Linked DNA regions of Homo sapiens: regions 2, 3, 4, 5, 6 and 7 are each linked to region 1. The links are contacts of gene promoters, found by promoter capture Hi-C in blood cells and fetal thymus (Javierre and others, 2016). All regions are on one chromosome and are shown on one strand. The core of a region is centred on a gene start or on the middle of the fragment in contact, and the rest is flanking DNA. Distances in the headings are between cores, read along the strand shown. Region 1 holds the start of WDR26 (WD repeat domain 26). Region 2 overlaps LBR (lamin B receptor). Region 3 holds the start of LOC105373281 (a long non-coding RNA gene). Region 4 overlaps CAPN2 (calpain 2). Region 5 holds the start of LOC105373041 (a long non-coding RNA gene). Region 6 overlaps TP53BP2 (tumor protein p53 binding protein 2). Region 7 overlaps TP53BP2 (tumor protein p53 binding protein 2).

Evidence for each region. Contacts are between HindIII fragments. The CHiCAGO score rates a contact against its expected background, and 5 or more counts as called.
Region 2: a fragment that was not itself captured here is called in contact with the fragment with the promoter of WDR26 in region 1 in 2 of 17 cell types (neutrophils and erythroblasts); the score reaches 6.1 in neutrophils.
Region 3: a fragment that was not itself captured here is called in contact with the fragment with the promoter of WDR26 in region 1 in 2 of 17 cell types (total B cells and naive B cells); the score reaches 6.6 in total B cells.
Region 4: a contact is called between a fragment that was not itself captured here and the fragment with the promoter of WDR26 in region 1, in 2 of 17 cell types (naive B cells and monocytes). The highest score is 6.6, in naive B cells.
Region 5: a fragment that was not itself captured here is called in contact with the fragment with the promoter of WDR26 in region 1 in 2 of 17 cell types (monocytes and total B cells); the score reaches 6.3 in monocytes.
Region 6: a contact is called between a fragment that was not itself captured here and the fragment with the promoter of WDR26 in region 1, in 7 of 17 cell types (neutrophils, total B cells, total CD8 T cells and 4 more). The highest score is 9.3, in neutrophils.
Region 7: a fragment that was not itself captured here is called in contact with the fragment with the promoter of WDR26 in region 1 in 4 of 17 cell types (naive B cells, total B cells, neutrophils and 1 more); the score reaches 8.7 in naive B cells.

What each region holds. Positions count from the first base shown.
Region 1 is chr1:224,432,791-224,436,701 of GRCh38, reverse strand. WDR26 (WD repeat domain 26) reads left to right here and starts at 1,905. Exons shown (of 14, transcript NM_001379403.1): 1 at 1,905-3,018. The coding sequence starts at 2,297. It also overlaps a transcript of CNIH3 not described here. RefSeq lists an enhancer at 997-1,186 and a silencer at 1,527-1,926. The HindIII fragment of the contact is 13,558 bases long and covers 1-3,911 here.
Region 2 is chr1:225,422,320-225,426,230 of GRCh38, reverse strand. LBR (lamin B receptor) reads left to right here. Exons shown (of 14, transcript NM_002296.4): 2 at 2,142-2,320. The coding sequence starts at 2,156. Among named protein-coding and RNA genes, the nearest start is that of LBR, 3.8 kb to the left of the region's middle. The HindIII fragment of the contact is 4,429 bases long and covers 156-3,911 here.
Region 3 is chr1:223,705,756-223,709,666 of GRCh38, reverse strand. It overlaps LOC105373281 (a long non-coding RNA gene), which reads left to right and starts at 2,017. Exons shown (of 3, transcript XR_949164.2): 1 at 2,017-2,299. It also overlaps a transcript of CAPN2 not described here. RefSeq lists enhancers at 1,309-1,808, 1,809-3,008. The HindIII fragment of the contact is 175 bases long and covers 1,706-1,880 here.
Region 4 is chr1:223,727,019-223,730,929 of GRCh38, reverse strand. All of the region lies in intron 2 of CAPN2 (calpain 2), which reads right to left. Among named protein-coding and RNA genes, the nearest start is that of CAPN2, 16 kb to the right of the region's middle. RefSeq lists an enhancer at 2,779-3,439. The HindIII fragment of the contact is 2,486 bases long and covers 675-3,160 here.
Region 5 is chr1:223,771,169-223,775,079 of GRCh38, reverse strand. It overlaps CAPN2 (calpain 2), which reads right to left. Exons shown (of 21, transcript NM_001748.5): 19 at 3,155-3,271; 20 at 2,841-2,899; 21 at 1-246. The coding sequence ends at 223. LOC105373041 (a long non-coding RNA gene) reads left to right here and starts at 246. Exons shown (of 2, transcript XR_949167.3): 1 at 246-812; 2 at 1,994-2,369. RefSeq lists an enhancer at 2,180-2,835. The HindIII fragment of the contact is 3,472 bases long and covers 168-3,639 here.
Region 6 is chr1:223,791,606-223,795,516 of GRCh38, reverse strand. TP53BP2 (tumor protein p53 binding protein 2) reads left to right here. Exons shown (of 18, transcript NM_001031685.3): 14 at 2,077-2,214; 15 at 2,995-3,128. Among named protein-coding and RNA genes, the nearest start is that of TP53BP2, 52 kb to the left of the region's middle. The HindIII fragment of the contact is 3,013 bases long and covers 406-3,418 here.
Region 7 is chr1:223,820,359-223,824,269 of GRCh38, reverse strand. TP53BP2 (tumor protein p53 binding protein 2) reads left to right here. Exons shown (of 18, transcript NM_001031685.3): 2 at 2,903-3,050. Among named protein-coding and RNA genes, the nearest start is that of TP53BP2, 24 kb to the left of the region's middle. The HindIII fragment of the contact is 2,946 bases long and covers 392-3,337 here.

The DNA.
Region 1 (3,911 bases), core at 656-3,155:
TAGAAAGACCTAAAGACCCAGAGTTCAGATAACAGATTCTCAAGCTGTGTTTTAGTACAGAGAAAAATGTTCTGTAAGGGACTTTATAAATTCAGAATTCTAACACGAGCAGTGTTGGTTACCTAAAAATTAGAAAAACTGGAATATAGAGTTTAGATAGCAATGGAATCCAATTTATTTTTCATCATTTTACTTTTGTTAATGAAGTGTGAGCTTTGTCTGTAGCTGCCATGAAGTGACTGATTTCCTTTATAAAACCTACAGTCTTTATTCAGAAGCAAGTCTTCAATGTTGCTATGGGCCTAATAAATTATTATAAACCATTTTGCAAAAATTAAATTTTGCCTAAACAACACTTTTAATAATAAGGTTGTCTAAAGTTAATATACAAACAGGGCTCTCTGAGGGTGTTAACTATCTAGTAATTCAGGCTCTGCTGGATACAGTGACAGAGCTCTATGAACCTCAACTAGAACTCAGGTCGGCCTCAGGTGAATATAAACACTGTATGTGAGTCACCTTGCAATTACAGCTGCCACCTGGAAGCAAATTTAAGCAGTAAGAACTACAAAACCAAATCCCTGTAAGATCCTGCATTGACCTTCCTCTTACTTCTTCCTGTCTGAGGATCCATAAACCTCAGGATTCTTTACTAATTTCTCATCAGCATCATTTTTTATTGTATTTCCAAATTTAAAAACAACTGTCTCCAAAGGCCTCAAAATTACTTTCAGTTATTACTATAATAAATATCAGCGATGTATGATGTATTAATTAGAAACTAAGGTGTTTTTTTTCCCCTCCCCACAGGAAAACTACTTCAGAGAAAGACTTTAAATTTCTGAGAAAATCTTTATACATATTGAGTATAGATGCTATCAACCACATACATGAAAATAATTGTTTGGGGATAATGCACACCATTTGCCAATGATTAAGATTCAGCCCAGTCTTTGTTGCTGCATTTCTACATTCACATAAATTGGTAAGTCATGATGACACAGAAGGCTCACATGCCACGTAAAAATTTCAAGCCTGGATCTGAATGGGTGCCTGAATCCTTCTCAGAATGCATATTTTGGAGGCAACTGTTTGGTTTATGTTACTGCTCCCTAAACTGGGCAGTGACTCAAGAGGCAGCTGGAAGAGAGAAGGAGGTGCTGGGCAAGTGCTAAAAAAGAGTGAAGCCTCAACAGCAGAGTCCCTCCCCTTCTCTACACACCACACAGCCTTTTTGTGACTTCTTGTCCCCATAAGATATGCTCCTCTAGACTAACTCCCCTTCCCAGGGTGGAGCAGAGTCTCACCGGCTCATTATCTCACAGCTCCCGGGATGGCCCCGGGTACAGCAACTGTGTGGCACTTGGCTGTGGAAATTCAAGTTTTTCCACCCTAAAACAAGTAGGTTGTGAAACCCGATTTCGGTCCTGGTTACCATTGAGAGGGGCCTACCACAGCCCTGTGCCTGGAAGTTCCTGCCTGTCGAAGCTCCTAGCCCCCTGCCCCATCCTCACCTTCTGCACCTGATGGAGAAGGTGCAGTCCCTCCGCGCACCTTACATGCCCATGCCACACTGGTGGACTCACGCACGCACGCCAACTCTGCCATCCCATGCACGCCCGGCTTCGGAGGGCGGCTACGAACTTACTGCTCGTCGAGCCAGCCGAGCCAGGGCGCAAGGGGAAAGGCCCGAGCGGGGCCGGGGATAGGATCGGATAGGAGTCGGGGTCGTGGATGGGGTCGGGGCGGACCCCGCCGGCCCGCTGGCCTCCCTCCCCTGACCCCCGGGACAGCCCCCGATGCACGTGCTGGGTGACAGGCCCCCTATAGGTTCCATACCTGCCACCGGAAGTGAGTGAGGAGGGCAGTATAGGCATTTCCTGTGACGCGAGCGCCTGGACTCCATTAGGCAGCAGCTGGGGGAAGAATCAACACACCAGGGAGCAGAGCGGAGCGGATCCGAGGACAGAGGCGGCAGCTGCCTCCGCTGCCGCCCGCCGCCGCCGCCGCCGCAGCCACTGCCGGGGCTCAGCCCAGCGGCGGGCCCCGCGCCCCCGCAGCCGCCCCGCGGCGCCCCCCGGCGCGACCCCCGGGCCGCGCACCCCGAGCTGCCTCCGGGAGGGGGGGGGGAAAGGGCCCGGATCCTCCTTCTCCCCCTCCTCCTCCTCCCCCTCCTCTCACCCTCACCCTCACCCTCCTACCCTGACCCCCTCCCCGCCTCCCCGGCCCCCCTCACCCCGACCCTCTCCCCGGCCCCCGCCTCCCCTCCCCCGCCTCGCCCCACCGGCTTCCCACCACGGCCTCTCTCGGCGAGGAAACTCTGGCCTCCGCTTCCTCCTCCTCCGACTCGGACACCGGCGGAGCCTCCCCGCCCCCGCGGAAGAAACCCCGAGCCTCGGCGGCGGAGGGAGTAGGAGAGCCCGGGGCTTCGGCAGGCAGAGCAGGCCTCTCCCCTCCGTCCTCGTCGTCCTCGTCCTCCTCCTCCTCCTCCTCCTCCGTGGTGGTAGTGGTGGGACTTCCCCCGGCTGCTGCCCCTCCCGCCGCCGCTGCTGTCCCCCACCGAAGTAGCGGCCACAGCCTGGTCAGCGGCAGCATCATGCAGGCCAATGGGGCAGGAGGAGGAGGAGGAGGTGGCGGCGGCGGCGGTGGAGGAGGAGGGGGCGGCGGGGGCCAGGGACAGACCCCGGAACTCGCCTGCTTGTCGGCCCAGAACGGGGAGTCGTCCCCCTCGTCGTCGTCGTCCGCGGGGGACCTGGCCCACGCCAATGGGCTCCTGCCTTCCGCCCCCTCCGCCGCCAGCAACAATAGCAACAGCCTGAATGTCAATAACGGGGTTCCCGGCGGGGCGGCCGCCGCATCCTCAGCCACCGTCGCAGCTGCCTCCGCCACCACCGCCGCCTCCTCTTCCTTGGCCACCCCAGAACTGGGCAGCAGCCTCAAGAAGAAGAAGCGGCTCTCCCAGTCAGATGAGGATGTCATTAGGCTAATAGGACAGCACTTGAATGGCTTAGGGCTCAAGTAAGTATCCCTTACCGCCAGCTGGTGATGGACAGACCGAGGGACGGAGGCTCCAGGGGGGTAGGGGAAGGGGCGGAGGGGGGAGGGGGGCTTGAAAGAGCTCGGTCAAAGAGAATGAGTGCTGGGCACGCAGGACCCAGTACACAGGAGGACGCGGCTCAGGGCGACCGGGGAGGAGGAGCGGACCTGAAAGGAAATAGGGGAAAATCAATCAGTCTGACAAATTGTGAGACGAGACAGGCGTTGAGGGGTTAGGAAGGGTTAGGAGAAACCCAAAGAATGACTTCTCCCCACGCACCTTCAGAGCTTAATTGTCTGTCAATAAAGACAGATGCGGGAGTGTGTTTCTGTATGTGTTGGGGGAGGGGTGGATTAGAGCTGGTGGAAATAATGAACCTTGGAGGATTTGTTTTTCAAGTGTATCTTGGAGGCATCTTTGTGGGACACCTCCCCACCCCCAACCGTGGCAGACAACAACCCAAGCAAACTACCAATCAGGAAAGACAATCACCTACAAGTGTTTATGGGAACGGAGGGGCTGGGATCATTTGGAAAGAGGTTGTTGAATAAATCTGATGCGAATAATGAAGATACAGTGTTGATGTCGTTTAAAGGCCCTTGTGTGTGTGTACAAGAGGCCTAACCCTAACTAGTCTGAAATCTCAGTTTAATACCAAGAAGATGATCGCCTCTGAAAAGGGGACATCTGATCTGGTGAACCATTTGTTTTCAAATACAATTTAGGTGGCCTTGTATACCTAACATAGGGTGAAGGTAGACAGCGACCTTGGACAAAAACCACCGTTTTGTATACACACAAAGAAAAACTAAGGGGGTGGAAGGTAGGATTGGTGGGAGTGCCTGATGAAGGAGGTGCAAGAGACGGAGTCAGA
Region 2 (3,911 bases), core at 1,121-3,620, 990 kb before region 1:
GTGTGTGGATCTTGTGTAAAGTGGGGGTGCACATCATGTTGTTGGCTTCATCTTTTGGAACATTTGTGTATAAGATAATGGTCTTCTAAGAAGAATGCCGGTTCATTTTGTTTGTTTTTCAAGCAAATCTTAATTCTTCTTTTAAAAAGTAAGCTTTAGAGACCTAACAGGTATCCACCATATGTGTTAACTTGTTTAACCCAGAATAATTGATAAGAATCTTTTTGGCACTGGCCTGCGTTTATATTACACAGATACTGTGTATGTGGTGTGTAAGTGCAATGGAAAGATGCCAGTAAATAAGTTTTTAAGAACACGCAGAAACTGTTCAAGGGTCTTTTAAAACCTCAAGTAGCCCCTGCGTCCTGAAGGGCTTGTGTTTCAAAAGTTTATAAAGAGTTTTTTGCAACTTGAGCATCTTCCTGTAGGAAGACATAATTGCCTTCTTTTAACTCTGGCTGACCAGTGTAGGAGAGCTAGTACTAGTAAGAGTGGTTTGATTTTGGGGGGCCTAGGGAGGAGGAGGGGGCTCAAGAGAAGAGAGAAGGAGGGTACATTTCCTTCCTCTTTCTTTGTACTTGGAGGCTCTGAGCTAAATGTTGAAATAGGCAAAGCTGGATGTTGTCACCTTCCGTTTTTATGCCCCTGCTCATGCAGAGGTGTTCACTGCCCCCCTGCTCCCTAAGTGCCCCTCGGGTGACTCAGCCAGGCCTGACTTCATCCCGAAAACTTGTGGGCTCCTCCCCACTACTCCAAGCCCAAACCCATTCATTACCCCAGTGATGCCCAATCTCAGGTAGGTGTAGGGAAGAAAGCTGCCTCTCTTACCTAATGTGTTAATTGACTGACATCCTCTAATCACCAGATAAGTACTTGTGTTTTCTTTCATCTACCAACCTAGCTGCCATCTCTGTAAACTAGTAGAGCTTGTTAAGTTTTTTCACAGACGATTAACAGTGAAAAAATGTGGTGGTTAAGAAAGGCCTCCCTCACCCCGCCTCCCCCCCCACTCTCCCACTACTCCCTTGGGGTAGGTAATTCAACTTTCTCCTTAATTCCAGAGTCTTCAAAGGTTCCTAAATGTTGCTTTTATTGTATCATCAGCTCTTAACAGGAGCCAGTGAGGAATGTACATTGATAGGCTTGGACAATACATCAAGAAGTGCTTAGTTGGTGAAATGAAGGTGATTTGGGAGACAGCTCATATCTGTCCTACTGGCTGCCCCTTGGACGTGGCCCCAGCTAGTTCATGTGGTACTGGGGAAGGTCGGCAGCCCTGGTTTTGTTGTGTGGAAATGTGATTCCGCTGGTCAGCCGATGGAGCGGCATTACTGTCTGGCAGCTGGAAGTACCCAGCTATCAATTGATATTTCAAAAAGGGTGGCAGACAGGCCTCACGTAAGTGGCAGTTCTTGCAGATTGCTTGTGGATTCCTAGAGTATTGTGGGGCTTGTGGGCCATGTTTTGAATCAGAGGAAAAGAATGTTATAATTGGGGGTTGATGGCTGCTGTAGGCTTGAGAGAAGTGAGCTTGGATGAAGGCAACCACCCTGGCTTAGGTGGGTGGTTGGCAGAGTTACTTGGTATGCATTTGTACTTTAGCTGTAAGAGTTGAAAGCTAAATAACCCCCAAATTTATTCATTACAGACTTGGAATTATTTTTCTTCCTATTGTTGGGTTATAGTCATGTTAATTGTACATCCTTGATTTTCCCAGTCTGGTTTATAGTTTGCTGTTTTTAATAAAGGCAATTTGTTAAAAATACAATTAAATGCATTTTTAAAGCCATTGTAAATTGATACGCAAATTTACAAATGAGAAAATGTGTTCTTTGTGAGATTGTGCCTCATTTTTTGATTAGCGAGAACTGTGATCACGGTAGGTGGGTAACATTTTACATAGTGTGAACTTATGGCGCCTATATACATTGTTATAATTAATCTTTAGTGTCACATAGATAACGCAGTGGCTAAATCATCCTCTCAAATGATTCCAAATGAGATTGAATGTAGCCTTTCTGGCCCTAAAATCCTGACCAGTCAATTCTGGAAAGTTGTATTTTAGTGATCAGCCTGTGGAAAAAGACGAATACATAAATGTGTATGTATTGACTCAAATTTTTTTCTTTAAAACTATTCAGGTTAATTATAGAAAATGCCAAGTAGGAAATTTGCCGATGGTGAAGTGGTAAGAGGTCGATGGCCTGGGAGTTCACTTTATTATGAAGTAGAAATTCTGAGCCACGACAGCACCTCCCAGCTTTACACTGTGAAGTATAAAGATGGAACAGAGCTTGAATTGAAAGAGAATGATATTAAGGTAAGAGCTCCTTTGGTTTATCAGAGTGTGTTTACAGTAAGTGGGAAATAACTCTAAGTATGGTTTCTAAGCTCAGGATAGTCAGTTCAGCTCGGTTTGAAGGCAGAGGATTGAGCTCTTGCTTTGGGTCACATACTGTTTTTGGCTCTGGGAATGTATGAATGAGGCATAGTCCTTGTTCCCAAGAAGCTCACACTTACTGGGAAAGACAGCCATTTGCATCTGTTGGTCCCCTGGGTTTACTACGTTCTGTGTCTGGAGTTTGCTGTGGGTGGTGTTGAGTGTATCAAGGGTAGAGAAGAGCCCTGGGCTTCAGGGGAGGCTTTCAGAGGCAGTGACACCTAGCCAAGTGCTGAGAACAAACAGGAAAAACAGCAGTTGATGGGGCTGTTTCTGCAGAGAGGGCAGTATGCCAAAGTCAGGGGTCTGGGGGACACAGTCAGCCAAGTGCTGGAAGGGGGTGGTAGGGGAGGGCTAAGCAGGAGCCAGGCTGGGGGGGCTTTTATATTCCATGCCCAAGGGTTTGGGCTTCATCCTGAACACCAAGGATTTAATCAGGAGAGTGACATTAATTAGATTCGAGTCTAGCCCAGGGCTTTTCAACCTGTCTGGTGAGGGCCTGGGTTTTAAGATATCTGATCCGTAGTATACAAACATTTATATAAAATGCCATAAAAATGAGTTACTAGAAAAATAAAGACATACACAATAGACGACTCACAGTTTTACTATCAGATTCGATAGATATGAGATTACTTTGTCAAAATGCTATAAACATTTCCATACACCTATTTCTCAATTTTGGTACTTGCACAGATTAGTAACGAGCATTTCTAGGACCCATGGCTGAGGATGACACTTCGAGTGCTCTAGACCAGGAATAAAGCACAGAAAGTAAATATTTTAGACTTTATGGGAGCGGCTCCAGGCAGTATGGAAGGGAGCAGACATGGCAGTGTTCCAGTACAACTTTATGGACAGTGAAATTTGAATTTTGGATAATTTTCACACTTCAGGAAATACTGTTCTTTTGATTTTGTTTGTAATCATTTAAGAATGTAAAAGCCATTCTTAGTAGGAAGGCCACACAAAAATTGGGGTGAGGGACTTGGCCTGGGGCGTAATTTGTCTACATCCCTAGAAGCAACATAAGGAGATTCGGAGTAGGTGGGGACACAGTGAAACAGTTCCCAGTCATCCAAGCTCATGTTTTATTTTCAAGATCTGCTTATGTGTTTTGTTCAGAGTGAAACTGTGGTACTGTTTTTTTTTTTTTGGTCTGTGTGCTTATTTATTTTGTCCTGTCGTCTCAGTTTTAATCCATGTTAATTATTACCCTTCTTGCATATGGTGTTGGAAATAAGTACAGCTAATTGGTTTAGATACATTCGTTTCATGGAAATACCTTCAAAGAACAGGAATGGAAAGGCTGCATTTGTCTCATGAAAGATGGATCATTATGAAAGCATTTTCCATTGGCTTCATCTGATCCATTCTCAGATCCTAACATTTCCCGTGCTGATTTTAGAGTTAATGGTAGCAGTTCCTGCCTTTGTTATCCTCTTCTAGTGTGGGTCTGTCTGTATGTGTT
Region 3 (3,911 bases), core at 544-3,043, 730 kb after region 1:
TTTTTGAGATGGAGTTTCACTCTTGTTGGCCCAGGCTGGAGTGCAATGGCACAATTTCGGCTCACCACAACCTCCACCTCCCAGGTTCAAGTGATTCTCCTATCTCAGCCTCCCGAGTAGTTGGGATTACAGGTGCCTGCCACCATGCCTGGCTAATTTTGTATTTTTAGTAGGGACAGGGTTTCTCCACGTTGGCTAGGCTGGTCTCGAACTCCTGACCTCAGGTGATCTGCCCACCTCTGCCTCCCAAAGTGCTGGGATTACAGGTGTGAGCCACTGCACCCTGCCGAAATGGAATCTTTAAAATGTGTTTATTTTATACTAATATGAGAGCCATGATGTTACCTTTTCTTAAAGCAAGTATTTTTGTCACTATTATTCCTCTGCCCCCATCTATTCTTGTCTCTGACACCCATTGCTTACCCCCTTTGCTTGACAAAACTTTGGTCAGACTTCTCTCTTTCCTACAGATCCCTGAATGCTGCTTGCCCCCAAGCCTGAACAAGCACAAACAAAGTGGAGTGTCCCTGCCAAGTCACTTCCCTGCCCAGCTTCTCCTGGGAATTGACTGAACACAGCAAGACCCTTTTCCTGTCAGCTCCCACTGGTCATTTCCCCTCACTTGTCCAGCTTCCCCTCCCAAGAGTCTGCTTATCTCCACTTGCTCCTCCTTTACCCTAGAAAAGAAGAATCTTTTTCTGTTTGATTTTGAGCTGCTTGCAGATTCTCTGAATTGGAATTGTCTTTCTCTCTTTTTTTTTCTTTTCTCTTCTCTTTTCTTTCTTTTCCTTCCTTCCTTCTCTTTTTCTCTATTTTTTCTTTCTTTCTCCCTCCCTTCTTCCCTTCCTCTCCTTCTCTCCTTCTCTCTTTCTCTCTCTCTCTCTCTTTCGCTCTTTCTTTCTTGTTTCACTCTTGTTGCCCAGGCTGGAGTGCAGTGGTGCAATCTCCACTCACTGCAACCTTCGCCTCCCGGGTGCAAGTGATTCTCCTGCCTCAGCCTCCTGAGTAGCTGGGATTACAGGTACCAGCCGCCATGTGCAGCTAATTTTTTTGTATTTTTAGTAGAGACGGGGTTTCCTCATGTTGGCCAGGCTGGTCTTGAACTCCTGACCTCAGGTGATCCACCTGCTTTGGCCTCCCAAAGTGCTAGGATTACAGGTGTGAGCCACTGCGCCTGGCCTGCAATAGTCTTTCTTTCTATTGAAGTGTCCCTTTATAAAAGTCTGGATTTTTTTTTTTTTTTAAACAGAGTTTCACTCTTGTTGCCCGGGCTGGAGTGCAATGGCGCGATCTTGGCTCATTGCAACCTCCGCCTCCCGGTTCAAGTGATTCTCCTGCCTCAGTCTCCCATGGTTTTGTTTTTATTTGACATCCTCCATCTCTGGTTTGCAAGTCTGGGCATGCTGCCTGATGGGCAGGTACCACCGTCCACCACCAGGCTTTGCTTTCTTTACTCTTGAATAAGGCGGGGACACAGGTTCCATTGTGTAATGGTTGGCACTCTGGACTCTGAGTCCAGAGATGGGGATACAGGCATTCATTTCTAGCTCATGGGTTTCTGGTGCAAGGGTTTCATGAAGCCATCACAATTGAAAACAGAGGAAAGCGACAGCCCTGTCCTGGAAGCTGTTCATTTGTTCCACTGTCTGATTTCCATTGGCCCCACCCCGACTTCTTCTGGGCTCGAGGCTCTTGGGAGAAAGCTTGTCCTTCTGCCCAGTGGGGCAGAGCGCAGGCTTCTCCTCCCACTGATCTCCTCAAGGACAGCTCATCTCTGGAGGAAGTGACTCCTCCCAGGCAGGTGGAGGTCATTTCCCTCCTAAGTCATTTTAGCAACAAATGGGCAGATCAGACCTATCATTCCAGTCAACTCAGAAGCTTTGCACAGCCTGGGAGCAGAAGAGCCTCCTGGCTCACCTGAAGTTCCTCTTCCCCAGCTAGGCAACACCCTCTTTGGTGCAGCCCTGGCCACTCCCCTTGCCAGCCTTCTAGGGATCGCTGCGCACATAGAGCTCTGCTTACAAAGGGCTTTAGGCTGTCCTATGCCACCCAAATTTAATTGCAAACACATACAATGACTACTTTCCCCAACCATTTGGACAAAGTCTAGTTTTTAAACCTGAGTTAATGTTGCTTTTTCTACTTCCCAAAGCCTCTCACACTATGCTATCTCACTGACCCAGCAAAGTCTTCTCTTTCTCTGACCACACAATCCTTTTCACGGGAACACAAGGACATAGACAAACACTTCATGGTGGAAAACCTTCCTGGAGTGAGTCAGCCAGCCCTGAGGATGGTGGTGAGTCAGAAACAGCTGGGATTATCCAGAACTGCCTGGGTCTGGGCCACTGACCTTGTGAGTAAATGAGAGAGGGAGTGAGAGAGAGAGATAGAAAGAGAGAGAGAGAGAAGAAGAGAGAGAGAGAGAGAAAATAAGAGAATAAGAATGTGTGTGTCTCAGAGGGCCATGGCAATGGAATCTTTTTCAGTAGTATTTTTCTTTAGATTATTTTCTCCCTGGCCCTGGATGTTTGAGATGCATCAGAGGCACAATCTGCAGGTTCTGGATTTTTTTTTTTTTTTTTTTGAGGTGGAGTCTCACTCTGTCACCCAGGCTGGAGTGCAGTGGCGTGATCTCGGCTCACTGCAACCTCCGCCTCCCGGGTTCAAGCAATTCTCCTGCCTCAGCCTCTTGAGTAGCTGGGATTACAGGGGCTCACTGCCATGCCCAGCTAATTTTTGTATTTTTAATAGAGACGGGGTTTCGCCATGTTGTCCAGGCTGGTCTTGAACTCCTGACCTCAGGTGATCCACCCATCTCGGCCTCCCAAAGCGCTGAGATTACAGATGTGAGCCACCGTGCCTAGCCAGGTTCTGGAGATACTAACCAAAGCTTCCTTTTTAATTTTGCACCTCCACGTGTCAGTCTCAGTTTTTATTTGACATATTTGTGCACTTTACACATATTTGTGCACTTAATCTTCACAGCCAGTCAAGGGAGATCTTATCTCCTCATTTAATGGATGAGTAAACAGAGGCCCAGCAGAGCAGCTGACATGTTGTGTTGTAGAGCCAGCCTGGCTGCCAACACCTAGACCATGGTCCCTTGGGGTCTGTCCATACCCAGTGTAGGAGGGCAGAGGGAACGGCAGGCCCAGGCAGAGGAAAAGAACCTGTTTTCTTCCCCTCCCTCTTTCAGGTCCGTGATTTGAATCCAAAGGAGATCACAGAGAATATGAATTCCACAGGGCTGCAAAAAACGGTTTCATTTGAAAAGAGATTTCTTTCTCTTCTGAAGCAGCTGCAGGGTTTATTCTTTCCTCATAGCTGTAGCATGAGTATTGGACAGGCCTGTTAGATGCCACTCAGGAGGGAGGGGGCTTCTGGAGGGATTCCAAGAGCTGAAGAGGCATGGAAAGGCTTCTCCCTGGTGTTGCAAAAGATGGGACGTGCTGACAGTAGAAGGAGAGAGGGAAACTCCGGAAAGAAATCCAGCAGCCCAGACAGTTTTCTAAGCCCCTTCTCTTTCCCCAGTCTGTTGGAGCTTAGGGTATTACATCCCACCCTTGCCAGGAGGCAAGAGCCGAAGCTGCTGCCCCTCACCCACCAGTGCTATCTCCCAGAGAGGTTTTCATAGCTGGGGTCCCCTAGTAGTAATTTTACTAATAATACATGTAGTCTTATAAGTGTGGGGTCTGGCAATTTTCAAAATACTAACTATCCATTCTCCCATCTCTTAAAATGGGGAAATAATACCTACTTTGCATAGTTCACACGGTTGTTATAAGCATCAAATCACAGTGTATGTGAAATTATTTGGGGAACTATAAAACCTTAGATGCTATCATTGTTATCATCAGCAGCAATGGCCCCTTTCTTCTACAGGCACATGAGTACTTGACATGTGGCAG
Region 4 (3,911 bases), core at 668-3,167, 710 kb after region 1:
CTCCTTAACTTACAACGGGGTTACATCTGAACAAATCCATCAGAAGTTGAAAATATTGCAAGTCGAAAATGCATTTAATACACCTCAGCCTACTGTAAACTAAAAATCAAAGTCTAAGCCCCTTAACTAACTGAATGGGTGCCCCCTTAGTCAAGGGGATTCCAAGGTAAACCTGAAAAACAAGTTCAGGCCACGATGGGAAGGGAGGTCCGTCATGCCTCATTTTATCCTCCTCCTTTAGGAATTCAGGCACAGCTGACCAGCCTTAACTGAAAACAGAGATCTTAAGACTCACAAAACAGACTCTTCCTAGCAATAAGATACCAAATTCCAACCACACTCTAGTAGAGCATCACATGACAGATAGCAGGCCCTGAAAGAAATCAAAGTATTTTAGCCCAAAATATATTTTTCTGACAGATTTTGAAATGTCTCTGAAAGCTGTCTCTTGTGGGAAAATCTACATTCTATAGCAGGGGTGTCCAATCTTTTGGCTTCCCTGGGCCACACTGGAAGAAGAAGAATTGTCTTGGGCCACACATAAAATACACTGACACTAATGATAGATGATGAGCTAAAAAAAAAAAAAATCTCATAATATTTTGAGAAAGTTCACAAATTTGTGTTGGGCCACATTCAAAGCCATCCTGGGCAGCACGAGGGTTGGACAAGCTTGATGTAGAGAATCACCTTCCCTTCAGGTCTTTTTCTGATCCTGAAGAGATTAGCTGAGCATCTAGTAGCACCTTTTAAAGGTCTGAATAGAAAACATTTGCCATCTATTGCCTTTGAGAGTGGCCCTCTGTGAGACTTCATCTACATAATAAAAACCTTGGTCTCTAACAACTTCTTATCTCAACCCAGGCACACTTTTCAACTGATTTCAGGTTTTCGTTTTTTTTTTTTTTTTTTTTTTTTTGGTTTTTTGGGAGCGAGTCTTGCTCTTGTCTCCTAGGCTGGAGTGCAGTGGTGCAATCCTGGCTCACTGCAACCTTCACTTTCTGGGTTCAAGCGATTCTCCTGCCTCAGCCTCTGAGTAGCTGGGACTACAGGCATACACCGCCATGCCCAGTTAATTTTTGCATTTTTAGTAGAGGCGAGGTTTCACCATGTTGGCCAGGCCAGGCTCGAACTCCTGACCTCAGGTGATCCACCCGCCTTGGCCTCCCAAAGTGCTGGAATTACAGGTGTGAGCCACCGCACCCGGCCTTGATTCCAGGTCTTTAGATAGTAACTTAATGCTTTCAATTAACTGCCAATCAGAAAAATCTCTGAATCCACCTGTGACTCGGAGCCCCCTCCAGCCCCTGTGCCTTCCCCATCCACTTCAAGTTGTCCCGCCTTTCTGGATTGATGTCTGCCTGTAACTTATGTCCTCCTAAAATGTATAAAACCAAGCTGTAAACCAACCACCTTGGGCACAGGTTCTCAGGACCTCCTTGGGCTTTGTCACAGGCTTTGGTCACTCATATTTGGCTCAGAATAAACTCTTTAAATATTTCACAGAATTTGACTATTTTGTTGACACTGCCTAACACCATAGCTTAGCCTAGCCTACCTTAATTGTGCTCAGAACACTTACAGTAGCCTACAGTTGGGCAAAATTATCTAAGGAGGCAAAGCCTGTTTTAAAATAAAATGCTGAACAACTCAATGTAATTTATTGAATACTGTACTGAAAGTGAAAAACAGAATGGTTGTATGGGTACTTCAAGTACAGTTTCTACTAAATGTGTATTGCTTTCATGCCATTGTAAAGCTGAAAAATTGCATGTCAAGCCATTACAATTCTGGGGCCACCTGTAGGCATCCTGAGCCAGACTCCAGGTGAGAACTGAGGCCCGCCTTGGAGTAATGGGGGAATAGAAGAAAATGGCGGCTTGGTGATGAGTTAAGGACCGAGAATGGAGGGACTGGTTGGACACAGAAAGGGAAGAACCTTGTATAGAGAAGGGATTGTGTTTTGCTTTTGTCTTTTTTGCTGAAGTCTCAGCCCACTGCTCTTCCTATAACAGATGCCCAGTAAAGCTGGCTGAATGGAAGCAGAAAGGCAGTTGCTGGCTTGTGCAAGTCAGGGCTCCTGAGCCCCATGGGCATCTCAGAACGCTTGGGGGTGAGTGGAGTCCTGAAGCTGGCACATCAGCCCAGCTTGTGAAGTCCTTCACTACTGTGTACCTTGGGAAGTCCCAGAAAACACATCCTCCCCACCCCGCAAACCATGAAGAGCTAATGTCCAAGCAGCTTGGGTTATTACTGGTAAAGGACAAGAAGGCCATTATTCAAAGGGGAGGAATCGTGGTGTCTTCCAAAAATGGTGGCAACAATGTTTCTGGTTTCACATGTTCTTCCAGAACCCTGCCACTCTCCATCTAGAAGTGGGCTCCATGTCCCTTCTCTTTGATCCTGGGTGAGCCTTCATTGATCTCAATGAATAGGATATGGCAGAAGTGATGCTATGTGACTTCCAAGCCTAGGTCGTAAAGATGAGACAGCTCCCAGGTCTTTCTCTTGGGACATGAGCTGCTGTAAGATGTTCAGCTACCTTCAAGTCCCTGTGATGGGGAGACCACAAAAGAGACAGAGATCCCTGGACCCCTGCTGATCCACCCTTCAGCCCGGGCACCAGACATGTGGTTGAGGGGGCCTACAGATGACTCTGTCCCCATCCCCATCTGATTGCAACCACTTGAGAGAGCGGGAGAGAGTTGCCCAGCTCAGCCCCGTCATCCTTCAGAACCATGAGAGAGAACAAAATGCCTTGTGTTTCAAGCCATTTGTTTTGGGGTGGATTGTTACACACTAGATACAGGTGTGACAAAACAGGGAGCTTGTGCTTGGGAGTCTGAACTGTAACGCATACCAGGGAGCCAGGGATAGTAAGATACACCTGCTAACAGAGTCTCCCACCTGGGGGTGCCAGCAAGAGAATGGAGCCAACACTGAGAAATGCCAGTGTCAGGCCACCCAGCTGCTCTGCAGTTCCCAAGGTACCCTGGACCTGAGATGTTCCCACTGTCTCCCTGCTGATGTGTGGTTTGGAAAGGCACCTGAGCTAGGAAGCTGAGCAGACGGAATGGCCTGCCAGTGGAACCATTCTCCAAGAAGCAGGGAGGGCCCTTCTCCTCCTTTGCTGTGTTCCTCCCAATGCTAGTGGGAAGCTTGAAGCTCCCCTCCCACAGGCTCAAATATCCCAGCAATGCTGCCCTGACCCCGTACATGCAATGTTTTCTCCTTTCCTACAGTATTTACTCATACTTGCGGCTGGATTAGATTGAAGCAATGCTGGAAAGAATATTTAGTTTGTCTTCAGCAACTCACCTACTGATTACCACTGCTATTCCTACCTCCCATCCGGCCACTCCCTTGCACCAGGCTCCCCAAATGGCATTCTGTGTGCCCAGTGACCCCCACAGTACCTCCCCCTTCACTCCTGCTCTGCCAGTGGTTCTCAACTGGGGGCATTCCATGCACCCCCCAACTCCGCCAAGCCCCCAGGGGACATTTGGCAAGGTCTGCAGACATTTTTGAGTGGCACACGGGGGTGTGTGGGTAGAGGCCAAGGATGCAGCTAAACATCCTATAATTCACAGGACAGCCCCCTACAATGAACAATTATCCAGTCAGTTGTGCCAAGGTTGAGAAACCCTGATGGATCTCAAATCGTACCTGTTTTGCGTTATATTTCTTTAGACCTTTTGTTCTTTTGTTTTGCATGCTGACAGCTAGATACACGATAAACAGACCAAGCTACTGAAGACTGCTCCTGGCTAAATTTCACCCTTCCTGAGACAACAGCATTTTAACAATCTCCAGCAGACCTGACACCCTGTCCCAGAGAGACACATCTCTCAAGGTCCTAGGCAGCCCAAGAAGGCGGAGAGCCACATTTTCAGGCAGCTGTGGGTCTTCGC
Region 5 (3,911 bases), core at 654-3,153, 660 kb after region 1:
CGACTCATTTGCATTTAGTATAATGATATGCAAATCTTTTACTTTGATGTGTGAAACTTCTGCTATCTCAAATTGACAGTATCATTATTTTCAGCTATGATCATCCGTTTAAGTAAATGTTCCCATAATTTTGAGGTCCAGATACAAAGTGTATTTCTATGGAAGCTTAGTCCTTGGCTGATTTTCCATCATGAGAAGTCTTCAGGCAGATTAGTTATAACTTCAAAGTACTGAGAAACAGAGCCACTGTGAGGAAGGAAAAAAAAAAGTCAGCTCAGTGACCACTTTTAAAATTAAAGGCTATTTAAGTACCTGTAGATTGTTCCAAAAAACTTGTACTGGAAAAGCTGATTGAGGGCTACAATATCAGTGCACTAACTCATATTTTTCTTACCTGATTTCTAGAGTCTAGCTTTTAACAGGTCAGTAGTCTGTGTGATTTGCATTAAGTGGCCATGAATCATATTACAGGGTTGATTGCACACATGAAAAGTGAAATTCACACAACAGAAATTAGCATTTTCACATCTCTGCCTCAGAGTATCACATCAGAAGTTAGTTTGGGATGTGGATATCCCTGCAACCAATGGTGTTCAGCATTGGTTCTAAGTTGTAGTGATACGGAAACTTTAAATCAGATTGATTCAACTGGTCTGGGATACAGACAGGACACCAGCACTTTGGCAAAGCTCCCCATGTGATGGAATCTGCAGCCAAGGTTGAAATCCCTGCAGACTGAACGGAGAGCTTCTGAACATGGCTCATCCTTGCAAAGACTACGAGAAGCGAGGATCTCCAGGAACCTGCAAAAGGTAAGGCTTAGGAGTGGCAGGAAAAGCCAGTGGGTAAGAAGATGCTTCTCGGAGGAGATGCGGAGGGAGTGGACTGAGCAGGCAGGCCAGGTGGACCCTGGAGTGGGGGTGGGTGGCTGGGGTAGAATAGGATATCCAGCAAGAATGACAGGCTAGGATTTCCAGAACTTAACATGTGGCATGTTTCGTGTCACAGTTGTGTTGACTCTACTATTTATTTCATTTTAAATTTTTTGAGACAGGGCCTTGCTCTGTCACCCAAGATGGAATGTAGTGGGGAGATCATGGCTCACTGCGGCCTTGACTTCTGGGCTCAGGTGTTCCTCCCACCTTAGCCTCCTGGGTAGCTGGGTCTACAGGCACGCACCACCATGCCTGGCTCATTTTTTTATTTTTTATTTATTTTTTTCTGAGACAGGGTTTTGCTCTTGTTGCCTAGGCTGGAGTGCAGTGGCACCATCTCAGTTCACTGCAACCTCTACCTCCTAGGTTCATGTGATTCTCCTGCCTCAGCCTCCAGAGTAACGTATTTACAGGCACCTGCCACCACGCCCAGCTAATTTTTTTTTTAGATGCAGTTTTGCTCTTGTTGCCCAGGCTGGATGGAGTACAATGGTGCAATCTCAGCTCGCCGCAACCTCCGCCTCCCGGGTTCAAGCAATCCTTTCGCTTCAGCCTCCCGAGTAGCTGGGATTAACAGGCATGTGTCACCACGCCTGGCTAATTTTGTATTTTTAGTAGAGATGGGGTTTCTCCATGTTACTCAGGCTGGTCTCGAACTCCCAACCTCAGGTGATTCGCCCGCCTTGGCCTCCCAAAGTGCTAGGATTATAGATGTGAGCCACCGCGCCCAGCCCTAATTTTTGTATTTTCAGTAGAGACGCGGTTTCACCATGTTGGCCAGGCTGGTCTTGAGCTCCTGACCTCAGGTGATCCACCTGCCTTGGCCTCCCAAAGTGATGGGATTACAGGCATGAACCACTGCGGCCAGCCTAATTTTTTATTTTTTTAGAGATGGGGTTGACTCTACATTGCAATCTAGGGGTAGAGATATTTCCTAGGATATGTAAAGTTTTAAGCAAGTTAGTGTTATTTGTAACCAGATAGACTATATTTTCACTTTGCTAATACAATGCATAATAGCAGAATGAGACAGTTATTTAGTTGCTGCCTTCCTCCAGAGTTCAAAATCCATGGAAAAGAGCTGCCAGTGCCTTAGACCTGCCCTCCTCACCACTTCACTCCTCTGTTACACGGACAGGACTGACAACTGCCATTCTCACCCAGTGTCAGCCACTTCGCCCGGCCCTCTGTGGCCTTCCCTGAGTATAGAGGAAATGCTGACTGGAGCCAGGTGATAATGGAAGTATACCCCACCTGGCTTCTTTCTTTCAGTGAGAGAACTTCCTGTCATTGGGATGACACGAGAACATTTTACGCTTTGCTTTTTGTGAAATTAGCATACCCACTTAATTCAGATTGATGATCATTTCAGAGATGTGTATTGCTAGGGTTCCAGACACATGAGTGCAATAACAATAATAAATGGCAAACGTATTTACTAGTATTGGTTTTATCTTAAACGGGGAGGGAGTAGAGAAAACTAATTTGCTTAAAGTATTTTAAGTAGATCCACTCTAAGAATGATGGATCTTCCCAAAACCCAACTTGAATTTCAGCTGAAGGATTTCTTTATATAAACATGTTCTCCCTTGCATGCTAATCAGGAGTTCATTTTTCTAAGCATGATCCTGCAGCCACTCCTTAGTTTAACCTTGAGCTACACTCAAGTCAAAGCTCATGAGAAGAGGGAGCCAGGCGTGCATTTTGGACTTGAGAATAGGTGGTTGGAAAACAACTGCAAGTAAAAGTGCATTGTGGGATCTTACAACCGGTTACAGGCCTGGCCCCGACAGACCAAGAGCTCTTTAAAGCAAAACTTGAAAAAGCAGATCACTCAAGTAACAGCCCTTTCCGCCCCATGCCTCCCCCATCCCCTTAGAAGCAAGGCGGGGCCTGCTGACTCACAGAGATAAGGTCGAGCTCTATTGTTCCAGTATTCTCGGGATCCAGCTGCTTAAATATCTCTGTGGAGGGAGAAAAAGAGGGTGTCACAAGTGAGTGAGCTGAAACAGATCACATTATCCTCTTTTCAGTTCAGCAACTGACTTCACTGACCACCATACATGCTTTCTTCCTCACCCTCAAATTAGTAAAGAGGGAATTTCATTCTCAACTCCTGGAAGACATGTCTCTAGTTTAGATGATTTCACCGAGGTGAAAGGCAGGCCACTTTAATACCAAGAGAACTGAAATGAGTCATTCCCCAAATATCCACTTACTGAATAGCGTTTCCAGCCGAACCAAACACCGAACAAAATTATCAAAATCGATGATGAGCTGGTCATCTGCAAACCGAGCAACGATGACTTGGTGGAGTTGACAGGGCATCTTGAAACCTGAAGTTACATGAACAAACAAACTCATTGCTAAGCATTAGATTGTTCCATTTAGCTGCGCTCACAGGCTATGAAACTAATGTGGTGATTTAAATGAGGTATAATTGCTTTTGTCCCTTGGCTGCTCTTCTGTGAGACTGGTTTGATTTTGCAAAGCCAGTACCTTCTGCTGTTTCTTTTGTTTTTGAACTGTCCACCTTCACCCTGCCTGTGTCCTTTGCTGACACATAAGTGTTTTCTTGCCTGTTTCTGTTCTCATGGTCACAGTTGCTTCATGTTGTTAACCATGCTGCTGCTGTTTGATTTTTTGTTTAGCTCTCAATCGTCTTGAAGATCAGATTCTTCCTGGATATATGTGAGCAGAAGCTTTCCTGGTAAACTCATAGTAGTTCTCTCTCCTTCCAGAGTAAAATAATTTTTATTGAGCCTATGGCCACCTAGCATCAAGACTGCATGTCCCAGCTTCCTTGCAGTCAACAGAGGCCTTGTGATCAGAGTCTGGCTGGTGGGATGTGTGACCGGAAATGGCCTGTGTGCCCTTAAAGGCAAGGGGCCCTTCTTCTGTCAACCTGTTGGTGGCATGTGTTTGTGGTGGCAGGCTGTCCCAGGTCCCTTGGATGAGGGTGACCCTTGAAGGTCC
Region 6 (3,911 bases), core at 663-3,162, 640 kb after region 1:
GACTCAAAAGACCTGGGTTTGAAACTTTTGATTACTAGCTTAGCTGTGTGAAATCAGGCAGATGGTATAACTTCTCTCATTGATGATGTCAATCTTTTTAAAAATTTTCTAGCAGTGAAATTTTAAAAAATGAAATGTTAGGTGAAACCTCAAACTTACAACAGTGGTAAAATTGGAAGGGTTCTGGATGGAGTGAGGGCAGGGAGGGGTAACTGGGCTGAGGGGCCCCTCTTCAGCCTCTTCCTCCCCTTCAACGAAGTCTGAAAATCTCTGGCTAATATGGTGATCCCTAAGATTTCTTTGTACTTTAACATACGAAAGTTATTCTAAGATTTTGTATGTTTTGGCTTGAGTGCACCTTCTACACTCCTTCCAGATAGTAAGCTTTTGTTTGAAATTTAAGCTTCCATCCTCTCACTTTGACATAGGTGAGAGAAAATAAAAATCCCAGAATGTCTGAATGAAGTCTGCTTTTTCATAGTTTAATTTGAAGCCACTTTGCTTCAGTAAGCACGGAAGGAAGTAGGATGCTGAACTATGAATTTAAAACCTGGTGAAAAGCAAAATAGCATTAAAAGAATTTTTTTAAATGTACTTTGCATGTTTGATTCCTTATTATCTTTTAGATATGATAGTATTCAAAGATAATAATTGTCCACAGTTATTTTTAACAATTGGTTACAGTAAATGTTTGCTTAAAAGTTTTATGTACTAAACATTTGAAGCTAGAAAAAAAAGTTTTAAAATAGAGGTTAACAGTTTTTAAACAACCCTGTGCCTCGTAAGTTCTGAGGCTTGATTCTCTTTGAGTTTTAAACATAAGAAAAGAAGGACGTTTTATTCCACATTGGCCAAAACCAATCCACGTTACAGCCACTTGTTATTTTCTGGCCTTTTTGTTGCTGTGTCAAAATAATCCACATTTTCAAGGAGAAAAAAGGAAAACTAGAATTGGTAAAAGTATTATACTTTCTTTTTAAGATTCTGCTGTTCTCTTCCTAGGAAGGTGTCTTACCTTTTCCTTCTCGATTTAAGTAAAATAGAAGCAACTATCTCGTACATTCTTTAACAGTGGGATCGGCAAGTGTCATTACACTGTACTGCTTATGACTTGTATTAACCACAGTCAGATAACATTCAGAGAGCAACATTTTAGTCATTGCACATTGTGAAATGTATTGTCGCTTAATGTTTTTTAAAACTTGGCAATTTTCCACATCTGAGATAAAATGAAAGAATTATGTGGAGTACATATATCACACCTCACAACAGTAAACGTCTCTACTTTGTTGGGTGTGTTTAAGAAACCTGTTTTACAGGATACTGGATCTAGTCTTTAAAATTTTGCCTTTTTTTTTTTAAGTCCGATTCATTAAAAGTTTAAGCTGGTAGGATTTATCCTTGTTATACCTAAGACAGACTAATAATCTGTATTATTTACCTTAATTATATGCTTTCCCCCGAGGAGGCATTCTGGTGTGAAATGGTTAAGATGGCAGACTTTAAAGAAGCCAGCTTACCTGGATTTGCGTCCCAGCTCTGCCATTTGCCGGCTGTGTGCCTTGGTTTCCTTATCTGTAAACTAGGGATCATAGGGTTTTTGTGAGGGTTAATGAATAATCATTCAATATAGGTTAGCTGTTGTAGTTGTGGGCTGTGCTGTTGCTCACTTTAAGAGAGTGGAGTTTGCTGTACTGTATTAGATAGGCAGTCTAAAGACCAGTCTTGGCTAATTCTGATACTTGACAGAACGCTAGCCTATTTGCCACTTCTGATTATACTCTTAGTTTAATTCATACTATAACATATAACCCAAACGTAATTATGTTAGATTTTATAAAGTTATGTTCCTCCAACTTTGCTCCATGGTATTTGTTCACTTTGTGAAAGTTCATTACGCTGCATGTCAGATTCGTATACTTTTCTGAATAATGTTATACTTCAATAAAATGTGCCAAATCTATATTGTTAAAGTGCCTCTCACTAATTTAGGTGAGAAGTCATTCCTTCCCATTTGCTGCTGTTGTTCTCTTGCATAGACGAGGATCCTAAATTTTCCACCCATTTTCTTTGCAGGGTAAAAGGACAAACTTGCGTAAAACTGGCTCAGAGCGTATCGCTCATGGAATGAGGGTGAAATTCAACCCCCTTGCTTTACTGCTAGATTCGTCTTTGGAGGGAGAATTTGACCTTGTACAGAGAATTATTTATGAGGTATGATTATAATTAGTAAATTTTTTTTTTTGAGTCAGAGTCTCGCTCTGTCATCCAGGCTAGAGTATAATTAGTAAATTTTTAAAATATGACCTTGTATTTTGTTTTAAAGCTCTAATTAGAAAGCGACTGTAGAGAAATTGTATTTTAAAATTGTTTTCCTTTTAGGCATTGTGGGGTTGTGTTCAGGAACTCTTGGGCACGCTTTAGAATAGGCTATGCTGTTTTAAAGGTATGACTATGGAATTGTCATCATTTGGAAGTTCGGTTTTCACTTGGAGTCCTCTAGAGTACTTTTCTTTCTTAAGAGAGATCATTACTCCCCTTTAGAAATTGTTCATGTATGGATTTGTACTATACTGTATTAGGTTAGAGATGCGGTCTCTACTTTTAGAAGCCTACTATTTAAAATATTTTTAGTTGACCTTTTTTTTTTTTTGCTTTCCATAGCAAATGCAACTTCTACTTAGAAACTAATTTGTGGTGAGAAGCTGGGAGGATAAATAAACAAAAATGACTATAAGGATATAGTTTCTGGTACTTCCTTTTTTTAAAAAAAACCTTTTTATAGTGACTGCCTACTTAATGTGGTTTTTCTGTCTGTCTTATTTCTAGAATTGTTCTTGGTATAGTTTTCTTGGCTCCTATAGGTTTTAATTATGATTTTTAAAAGTGTCACAAGAGTCCATTTCTGTCCTCTTGACCCTAAAGGAGCCAGTTAGTAGTGACAGTTCAGGTGACAAGAAACTAGAGTGATGCTCACCCTTCTTCTTGATATAGGTTGATGACCCAAGCCTCCCCAATGATGAAGGCATCACGGCTCTTCACAATGCTGTGTGTGCAGGCCACACAGAAATCGTTAAGTTCCTGGTACAGTTTGGTGTAAATGTAAATGCTGCTGATAGTGATGGATGGTAAGATTTTCTTTTAAACTCCAGTCAAACTTCAGTTGTGGGAATCGGTTTATAAGCAGTTGTCATAGTGCTGTTGGAAGACAAAGAAGTATGTCAGTTATGTCCTTGAGCTGCTTGTAATCTAGCTGGAGAAATGTGGTATCTATTTTTGAGGAATTAACATGTGTTCATGTAACAGTCATCTCATTCCCATCCTGGAAGTAGGTGGAGTTTTAAAAAGTTTAGTAGTTAATGATAAAAATAAGTGTAACAAAGTAGTACACAGTTAATTAGCATCCTTAAGCAAAGCTTAAGAGAGAAGTGCTGATTTAGGCAAGGTATCCCTAAGCCCCTGAAATGGTTCAGTCTTCAATATATTAATGTCCATTCTATATCTCCAAGAGGGGATTATAACTTGCAACATATCCTAAATATATTTGACCATGGAATCCATTTTTCGTGGAACCAGGGTGTACGTAAAACGCAAGCGGTACTGCAAGTGATGAGTATTGTTTGCAGGATAGGGGAAATGTTAGTCAATATTAAATAATAATAATAAAGGTCCTAATAAGGTCCTGTCATCCCCAAAACTAACAGAATAGACAGCAAATTTTGTATGTTATTTTTAAAAAAGAAAGTTTTAAGTTACATTGTGTTACTTTTGTGGAAGAATACAAACAATTGACTTTTTTCTTTATAGGATTTTAAAAAGTTGTAATCACACTATATTTACTCCAGTATTTTAGTTTCACAACTTGTTTTTCTCATAATATGGAAAATAGTTACCATATAAAATTCTCATGT
Region 7 (3,911 bases), core at 615-3,114, 610 kb after region 1:
AAATGAAGCTGTTGGTTTTCCAGAAAGTAAAAGATCAGATCTCTGTTAAAGTGTGGGTAACTGTGGTTAAATGGAGCATTTCCTAGTATTTTCTTTCTATAAAGGACAGCTTAAAGAATAGAGGATAGATCAGAAAAACAGAATTGTACCTTTCTCATTTCAGTAGGCAAATAGATCACTTATCTGAGTCTTTTTCTTCATTTATAAAGAGAAAATAACACCTGCTGTTTATCTGAGAGTTGATGTAAGTTTCTGAGATAATGTGTCTGAAAGATGAAGTTTACAGAGGTAAGGTGCTATCTTACATAATAGGCTTTTATTTGTTGATAAGGTGTGTGTTTAGCATATACTCTGTATTTCCAGTATTTCTGTAACTTAACACCTCTAAGCTTCATATTTACAATGAAAAGTTACTATTTTCAAAGTGATAAACTTCAAAGCAAGTTTTTGCATCGGTAGGGAGTATGGAGAGGGAGTATTTAATGCTAAAGTGTACATTATTTGTCTCCATCACTGAATATGCTGTATACTTTGGGAGCAGCAGACGAGTGTACTTCTGTGCTTTGTTAATCGTTTTATTTTTTCAATGATTTAGTCAAGGCTTTATGATTTTTGTGTAATAATTTTGAGTGCTGCCTTGTTGGCTAAGTTGAACTCTAGAACTGTGTACCTTTATGTAGTCAAAATGTGAAAAGCCTGAGATAATTAGCTTGAGAGCTTTTGAGCTCATACTGGGAAAGTCTACAGTGTTTTTTTATTTTTCCATTAAAAAATTGTTTCAACAGTGTTCACTATTTTAATTTTTCTGGATTACCCTCTGTTATACCTGTTCATGTGAGTTAACAGCTTTGGTTGCAGAATGTGGAGGCTTGGACTGGCTTGAGTGCAAGGGTCCGCTCTTTCTCTCATGTATATCTCCTCTTTCTCTGACCAATTCTTGAGGCACCGAGTCTGATGTCTTAGCCAGTTTCCATCATCATCCCTAATCCGGTGCTGCCTTTTCCCAAGCAACATCTTAATGCAGCTTTCTCCACTTGGGGGTAATGGGCAGAGACATTTAAGTTGGAAGGGGAGTTGTGTGACTGTTGGTAGGCCCTCCAATTGCTGTGTGATGTCCTCCTGTCATTGTGGTCATAGGGTATATCCTACTTATTCTGCTTTTTTGCAGTCTTAAAACCCAAACTTTTCCCAGTGCTTAGCATAGTTTCATTAATGATTTTAAAAGACTAAACTTGTCCCTCAAGTTTATGTTCCATAGGTTATGCATTCTCTTTCTTTGATTGGAATTATTTTCACAGGATGTATTCTCACTGTGAGGTAACGCTTTCAAATTATTATTTTTTAATCCTGATACATACTGACTTGCATGGAGTTACTCATTGAATTGAATAAACATAGAGCCTTACTAATTTGCATCACTGTCGAAAACTTGTTTCCTGTTTCACTTCGTTTCTTCAGCATTGGAAATTAACAAGATTTTTTTTTTTGTAATTTAATAGGTGTGAAAAATTTAATTCTTTAGTAGCAGTGTTTCTAAGATACAGTGTCTTTTTTTACTAGGAGAAAGATTGTCAAGATTGTTAGGTTTTTTTGTTGTTTTTTTTTTTTTGAGTCAGGGTCTCACCCAGGCTGGAGTGCAGTGGTGCAGTCACTTCTCACTACAGCTGCGACCTCCTGGACTCAAGCAGTCTTCCCCACTCAGCCTTCCAAGTAGCAGGGACCACAGGCATGTGCCACCATGTCTGGCTGATTTTCTTTTAATTTTTGGTAGAAACGGAGTGTTGCTTCGTTGCCCAGACTGGTCTTAAACTCCTGGACTCACATGATCTTCCCGCCTTGGCCTCCCAAAGTGTTGGGATTACAGGTGTAGGCCACTACACCCAGCCTATTAGTGAGTTTTAAATGTAAACCTTCTGTTGGTCTCAGTGTTTATATACAAGGTCAGGTAGGTGTTAACATAACAGCTACTCATTTCTACTTATACTTTGTTAATGAAATCTTGTACTTCAAAGTAGGTATTTAATTTGCTTAAAACATTTTAGAAGTACAATTTTTTGGCCGGGCGCAGTGGCTCACGCCTGTAATCCCAGCACTTTGGGAGGCCGAGGTGGGTGGATCACCTGAAGTCAGGAGTTTGAAACCAGCCTGGCCAACATAATGAAACCCCGTCTCTACTAAAAATACAAAAATTAGCCAGATGTGGCATGGCGTGGTGTGGTGTGATATGGCATGCGCCTGTAATCCCAGCTACTCGGGAGGCTGAGACAGGAGAATCACTTGAACTCGGGAGGCGGATGTTGCAGTGAGCCGAGATCATGCCACTGTGCTCCAGCCTGGGAGATGGAGTGAGACTCTGTCTCCAAAAAAAAAAAAAGTACAATTTTTTGAATAGGTAATATATGTACATTATATAAAGATTAGGTTTATACAGAGCTGCCCCACAAGCTCTGTTCCCTCCTGCTTCCACTTCAGAAGCAGCGTGTTACATTCTTACGTGTCCTTCCAAAAAAGAGACTGTGCATAAATAAGTATATATGGATGAGGTTGTCGCATCAACCTTTACAGGATTGACAGGAAGATATATTTGTAGTATGGGTCCAGCATATATAAGTATTTGGCAAACAACATGAATAAAACTGGCAAAAACAGATTTAATTTGAACTGATGTGACTGTATTCTAGGGTCACCAAGGGTTCTAGAGCTACTGCCCCATGGTAGGGGCTGGGCTCCAGGTCTCCCTCAACCCCCAGTCCACACCTCACCTTTGGCCGGGTGACAGCCAGACTGTTCTGTTGTACGTTTGCACTTCCAACTGAGATTTTGTTTGGAGAAAGGAATTTAAGGTGAATACCACATTAGGCAGACAGTACCAGTAACCATGTGTTTCTCTCTTAATTTTTAGATGTTTCTTACCGTGTATCTCAGTAACAATGAGCAGCACTTCACAGAAGTTCCAGTTACTCCAGAAACAATATGCAGAGACGTGGTGGATCTGTGCAAAGAACCCGGCGAGAGTGATTGCCATTTGGCTGAAGTGTGGTGTGGCTCTGGTGAGAGACGCTGACAGCCTCGTGCTTTAGTTCTTCTGTCTTCTATTAATGTTGGTTTGTAGACGTGGCACTGTGTGAATGCTCATGTTTCTCCGGGGAGAAACTGGAGAATAGCACGTCCGGCAGAAATAGTGTTCCTGATCCAGCTTTGGTATGATACATGAAGTCTTTTTCGGTTTTCTTTTTCTCCAATAAAATGGAGACACCACAATATAAAATACAAAAGGTCATCTGGGCTGTTGTGGTCCAGTGGATGGTGCTCAACAGTGTCTTTGTATGTGTAAGCTTTACTTAATTAGAAATTTGAGGCATCCTAACTGGTTTGCCTTCTCTCAATTTCTGTAGGTTTTTAGAGGAAGCTACTCAGTGTCGAGGAACTGTAGTGGCAGACAGCAGTGGTGAACTCGTGGGCATTATTGTAAGCCTTGAAATCAATCCTTCTGTATGGTTCTTTGGAGCTCTAAAATGGGATAGCCTGGTTTCTTTTTGGCTCCATAGGAGGTGGTAGATGTGGGAGTAATTTTTCATCATTTCTGCCTTGTTCCTACACAGGCTGGATGAACTCCTGCTGGTTTCCTTTTTCACCTCTGGGGATGCCAGATATCCCCAGAGCAAGTCACACACTGTGTTAATTGAGTTCATGCCATTCATGATAGCTAACTTCAGCTGAGCCCCCACTTCTTTTCAGGCAAGTCCTTTTATTCATCTTTGGTTAACTTTTCTACAGTTGGATGTTCTAGAAGGTCTTCTGCAGTCTCCGAATTACTTTCTTTTCTGTTTACATAGGAACCAGATTAGAACAATCACATGAAGAAGCCCAAGGGATCTTTTGAAAATGAAAATTAGATAATTTCACTTTCC